2 separate regions of the Homo sapiens genome follow, and region 1 is linked to region 2. The links are contacts of gene promoters, found by promoter capture Hi-C in blood cells and fetal thymus (Javierre and others, 2016). All regions are on one chromosome and are shown on one strand. Each heading gives the region's core, a stretch centred on a gene start or on the middle of the fragment in contact. The rest is flanking DNA. Distances are from core to core; before and after follow the strand shown. Region 1 holds the start of CHST6 (carbohydrate sulfotransferase 6). Region 2 has its middle 21 kb from the start of MON1B.

Region 1 (2,976 bases), core at 396-2,895, 1.7 Mb before region 2:
CCCCACAAGGGCAAACAAAACAGAAGACGCTGGAAAGTCATGGCTAGAGGCCTGGCTTGTGTTTTTTCTGAGATGGAGTCTCGCTGTTGTCCAGACTGGAGTGAAGTACCGCAATCTCAGCTCACTGCAACCTCCGCCTCCTGGGTTCAAGTGATTCTTCTGCCTCAGCCTCCCAAGTAGCTGGGATTACAGGCACTCACCACCATGCCCAGCTTATTTTTGTATTTTTAGTAGAGATGGGGTTTCACCATGTTGGCCAGGCTGGTCTTGAACTCCTGACCTCAGGTGATCCACCTGCCTCGGCCTCCCAAAGTGCTGGGATTACAGGCGTGAACCACTGCGACTGGCCTTAGAAGCTTGGCTTCTGAAGCCGGATTGGGTTCAAATCCTGTCTCTACTACCAGTGAGGGGTGTGACTTAGAGCAAGTCACTCTCTGGCTCTCTATACTCCAGTTGACTCTGTTTGTAGAACAAAGCCAGAAAAGTTCCGGCCTCTCAGGCTGGAGAGGAGCCCAGCCCCAGCTCCCGGAGCAGCATAGCACCCTCAGAGGCCCTGGTACTTGGCCTACTCGCTTGTGGGTTTAAGTCAGCCAACTCCTTTCTGCTCTTCAGGCCTCAGTTTTCCCATCCTCAAAAATGGGAAACTTGACTGCCTTGCCTCTGTGAAAAAGGGAGGAGAAAGGAAAGTCAACATTTGCTAGGCACCTGTCCTGAGGCCCAGAGGGCCTGTCCTGAAGCCCAAGATGAAGCCGTCAGAAGCAGTGACGCAGGACTCCAATTCCCCTGGGTCTGGTTCCAAATCAACCCGCCAAGCTACCGTCTCTCAATAATTCTATGGAAAAAGCCCTTGGAGAGCTTTTGAAAGTCATGTCCTTTGAAACTCAAGTATCGAGACAAAAGGGGTTCTCCCCTCGCAGTGAGGATTCTCCTGCGCAGCCGAAGCCCCAGCAAGACACTTCCAAACCGGCGCCAACAGCGGCGATGCCCTTTCCACGTTGCTGATGGAAAAGCCACTCCCAGCTCTTCCCGCCACCCCAGGTCCCCGGTGCAGGACAGAGGAGCGTCCCCAGCTGTGCCACCAGCCCGGCCCCCAGCCGACCCGAGTGTGGGGACATCCCCCGCGGAGAATGAAGAACCAACGTACCCCAAAGCTTGGCGGCTCTGCCCGAGCTGCAGCGGCACGGTGGGGGACGCCTCTCTCCCTGGACTCAGCAAAGGCTCCCAAACGTCGTCTCTTCCAAATTCCACCGCACAGCCAGCTCTTTCTCTTCACTGGGAGGGTCCGCAGGGGCTGACTTGCTCCTTAAGGTCCCAAGACTATTAAGCGACACCCGGTGAGGCCGGGAAAGGGGCTCTAAGAGGCATGGACGAGAGTTGGCGGTGACCAAGCCACTGGAAGCTCCTGGAGACTCGAGGTAGAACGAATGTGGGAACAGGGCAGGAGTCCCAGAATGGGATGTTGAGGCTGGGGGTGTCCTGGGGCTACCACAGGGAAGGACCCGGCGCAGAGCTCCCTCTGGAACCCGGCACTGCGGCCCGCGCCCTCTACTCCCCGCGCGCCGGCCGGCAACCCTCGGCGCTGCCCGGTGCAGCCCGCCCGAGCGCACACAATGAGGCGCTTTCAGACGTGGCTGCGGTCCCGAGGTGGCCAGCGGGAGCTAGCGCCGTGGGGGAAGGAAGGAGCCGGTTGGCCCACCCCCGACCGAGGGGCCACGCCTCGGGGGAGGGGCGCCGGCCGAGGGCGGGGCAGGAGGGCCCAGGTGGGCTGGGGCTCTGAGAGGCTCAACTTTTAGCCCAGAATGTCAAAGGGCGCTGGCAGAGTCACCTCTCATCTGACTACAGAGGAACGTTGTACCCCACCCCACCCCAAATCCCCAGAGAAGGGGGGCTCCTGGGAGGACAAAGGCCCTAGTGAAGGAAGTCGAATCTTAATCTTGACCCTCCTCACTCTCGGGGGCATCCTTGCGGCGAGGTGACTTGGAATCCAAACCCTTCCCAAGGCCACGGCACCTGGATGACACATGGACCCGGTGCAGTGTCCCAACTGGGAAGAGCGGAGAGACCAGGTGGCCTTAGGAGCTGGGTCCGCAGCTTTTCCCCTCCTCCTGCGCATTCCCTGCCCTAGCCTAGGCCCAGAGGCGCAGGTTCATAGCAGGTCCAGATAAAGACATGATACGTTTCAATAAATAAGATATTTCCGGCCAGGGCTGGGCGCGGTGGCTCACGCCTGTAATCCCAGCACTTTGGGAGGCCGAGGCGGGCGGATCACGAGGTCAGGAGATCGAAATCATCCTGGCTAACACAGTGAAACCCCGTCTCTACTAAAAATACAAAAAAATTAGCCAGGCCTGGTGGCGGGCACCTGTAGTCCCAGCTACTCGGGAGGCTGAGGCAGGAGAATGGCGTGAACCCGGGAGGCGGAGCTTGCAGTGAGCCGAGATCGCACCACTGCACTCCAGCCTGGGCGACAAAGCGAGACTCCCTCGCAAAAAAAAAAAAAAAAAATCCGGCCAGGCGCGGTGTCTCACGCCTGTAATCCCAGCACTTTGGGGGGCCGTAGTGGGTGGATCACGAGGTCAGGAGTTCGAGACCAGCCTGGCCAACAGGGTGAAACCCCGTCTCTACTAAAAATACAAAAATTAGCCGGGCGTGGTGGCAGGCACCTGTAATCCTAGCTACTCAGGAGGCTAAGGCAGGAGAACTGCTTGAGCCCAGGAAGCGGAGGTTGCAGTGAGCTGAGATTGCACCACTGCACTCCAGCCTGGGCGACAGAGCGAAACTGTTTCAAAAAAAAAAAAAAAAAAAATCCCCTTTACAAATAACAGGGCAGAGCCCAGGCACCTGAAAAGGATGAAGCATTTCTAGGTCTTGTCAAATTAGTGATGGGATCTTAATCAAGAACTCCCTGCTGCTGGGAGAAGAAATAAGCAGTCCTTCCTGGTTGTGGTTTGGCAAGATGAATTAAGATTCTTGACA
Region 2 (2,880 bases), core at 153-2,652:
CAACCCATCTGGAATTGATTTTTGTTTATGGTATGGGAAAGGGAGTTTATAATAATTAATGATATTTATAAGACAAAACCAGCAAAATACTCAAGACCACCTAATTGTTCAGTAGACTCTTTTTGATTCATGAGACACTCACGACCTTGTCCCTCCAAAATTACCAGGTTGCCACAGCACTCTGTCTTCCTTCCTTCCTCCTGCCTATGTCAAATTCTCTTTCCCACTCTTCAAGCTTCCTATATAAGCAGACACATCCAGCCAGCAAAAGAGATTGCCTATCTGTCCTTCTGAAGCACTCATCCATCATAAAAGATGGTCCTGGAAAATCTCTAAAAGGTTGAAGTATGGGCTTTTCACAGTGGGAAGAGCCACATCACACCCTGATCCTTCTTTCTAATCTTCTGTTCATATAGGCTTGGCAGGAAATAAGAATTGGATGATGATTGAGGCAGCACAGAGAACTTGGAGACTTCTCTAGGGGTCTAGGGTTTGACCCTAGTCGTTTGGTCTCTGATACCTGCTTCTGGGTTCCGTTTATCAATTACCAGGACACCAGACAAGTGTCACAGGTCAACCTCCCATCATGCTTGGGTGGGCATACAAGGAAGAAAGGGCAGTAAAAACACGTAGCTGAGGCCAAATATATATGGTGACCACTTGTCAGTTTCACCAGCAGATTTACCTGCTCACAGGCTTAGAGAAAGGAGGAGTGCTAGCGCCCCCTGCAGTACAGAATCAAGAATCCCTAGTACCCAGGAGAGCATCAGTGATTCAGACTGAGGGCACATCGGGTAGGAGGCTCTCAGCACCCCTAAAAATTGCAAAACTAAAAAACTTCTCGCAGCTGAGAAGCTGGAGATAATGTTCATTTAAAAAAAACTGAGTAATCTCTGTTGTCAAAGAGCTATGTGACACCTGAAAAAATAGTATGCCAATATTTGGGGAGGAAAAAAAATAAAGCAAAACAGGAATTAAAAGAAAAAGAACACTTCTATCTCAAAAGACACAGCTTTTCCCAATTTTGAAAATGTGAATTACAGCCAACGTATTAAGTCCCTTGAAATTAGCAGGTTATAAAGAGCTGATACAGCCTTATCTAAAGAAAGCAAGAACAGCCCCATTACAACAGAAAAACAAAACAAAAAACTTCTAAATCATGCATGGCCTGAGATAAAGAAAAATTAAGGTCTTTGCATAACATTGCCCCAGAACTAAGCCTAGCAATATATTTTCCTGAGGAACCTGGAATGGGGGCCAAGTCAGATTTTCTTGTGTGGCAGAATACCTAATGGGAATTTTTAGAGCTGTGGATGGCTGGGAATTTTTAGAGCTGTGGATGGCCAGGAATTTTACTAAGAAGCAGGAAAAGTTGTGGGCAAAGAAACAAGAATAATGATGCATGGAGAGAAGTATAGGCAGGGGTTGGGTGTCAGAGAAAAAGAGTTTTCAGAATCTTTCTTTCCAGTTTCTGCTTCCATTTTTCCTGGAGTTCAGCCATTTTCCATCATGCCCGCCATGACTTAACTTTAACTGATTTCATAGCCACTTTTTCAACGAGATGACTGGGATTGGTTTCTCCTACTTTCAACCAAGAATCCTGACCACCATAGTGGGTTTTAGGAGATGGGCCAGTGAGTGGGGAGGCTGTTCTCTGGGCACAGGACCCTGACACAGACATCCCAGCACTGACAAAGCTCATTCCTCCCCAGGGATGCTGAGCTGCTGCAGGAAGCTCTTGAACATCAAGTTATGCCAGCAGAAAAAGACATCAGATTGGAAGAATGTGGGTGATGTTTTGCCTGTGGAGGGGGTGGAGGATAGCCTTGGATCCCTTGAAGCCCCTAGGACATGGGTTTAGCCACCCCATGGCACTACAGAGGGTCACGTGATCTGGAGCTAGCAGGATAGTGCTGGTTTAGAATATTCTGCTGACATCGTCCTAGCTATCGTCACAGTGTTTCCTTAAGCATTAATTTATGGTCACAGTTACTGTAACACAGCTAAAATTTTTTACCATATCTACTCTTTCTAATGGTCTAATAATGAGAAGGTTTTTAGCACACGTGTCACAGGGTCAAGAGAGCAATTACTTTTCATCTGAATTCATAAAACCCTTATTATACTAACACAAAGCACCATATTTTTAATTCCATGTAGTATAAATAAATAAAAAGAAAATAGCCACGAGCATTTTTCTAACCATATGACCTTGAGCAAGTTACGTGAACTCTGTGGAGATCTGTGTACTTTTCTGTAAAACAGATTTACTGAGCATTGCATCATATAATTATTGTGATGATTAAATAAATTTATTCTATAAAGTGCTTAGCACAGTGCCTGGCACATGGTAAAGTGCTGAGTAAATATCAGCTCTTTTTATTACTGGAAGTACCTGGCTTTCCCCATTGACTTGATTTCAGAGGCAGATGAATTCTCCCTTATCCAAAATTATTTCATACACCACTCTGGCCACCAGAGATTCATTCACACTTTGAGTTGTCAAATAATTTCTATTGTTATGCAGAAAATCCTAGTAGAAACCATAAAATGCTACTTAATAGTCATTCAAGCTTTTTATAAAATAGTTTTCAAAGTAAATTGTTTCCTTTATGGGTTTTAATGACGAGAAGGATGAGATTAACCACAGGACTCTGGAGAGAGGTACAGATTTGGGGGATTTACATGGGGGTGGACTGATATCACAATGATCCCTAATTTTCTATATTCACCAGGCAGATGAGCTGGTCTCAGAAATACTCAAGTCTCAAAATCTTTGGAACATATGCTTCCATATCAGGTACATGGGTTTTTTCTGCCATCTAGTGGCCACCTTTGATAAAGACAGTCATCTTTATGTGAGCAAAGGTTTCCCACCTA

The links. Contacts are between HindIII fragments. The CHiCAGO score rates a contact against its expected background, and 5 or more counts as called.
Region 1: a contact is called between the fragment with the promoter of CHST6 here and a fragment that was not itself captured in region 2, in 1 of 17 cell types (total CD8 T cells). The highest score is 5.1, in total CD8 T cells.

The regions. Positions count from the first base shown.
Region 1 is chr16:75,493,796-75,496,771 of GRCh38, forward strand. CHST6 (carbohydrate sulfotransferase 6) reads right to left here and starts at 1,646. Exons shown (of 3, transcript NM_021615.5): 1 at 1,145-1,646. RefSeq lists an enhancer at 1,040-1,219 and a silencer at 1,520-1,849. The HindIII fragment of the contact is 1,836 bases long and covers 1,150-2,976 here.
Region 2 is chr16:77,169,118-77,171,997 of GRCh38, forward strand. No RefSeq gene overlaps it. Among named protein-coding and RNA genes, the nearest start is that of MON1B, 21 kb to the right of the region's middle. The HindIII fragment of the contact is 2,338 bases long and covers 234-2,571 here.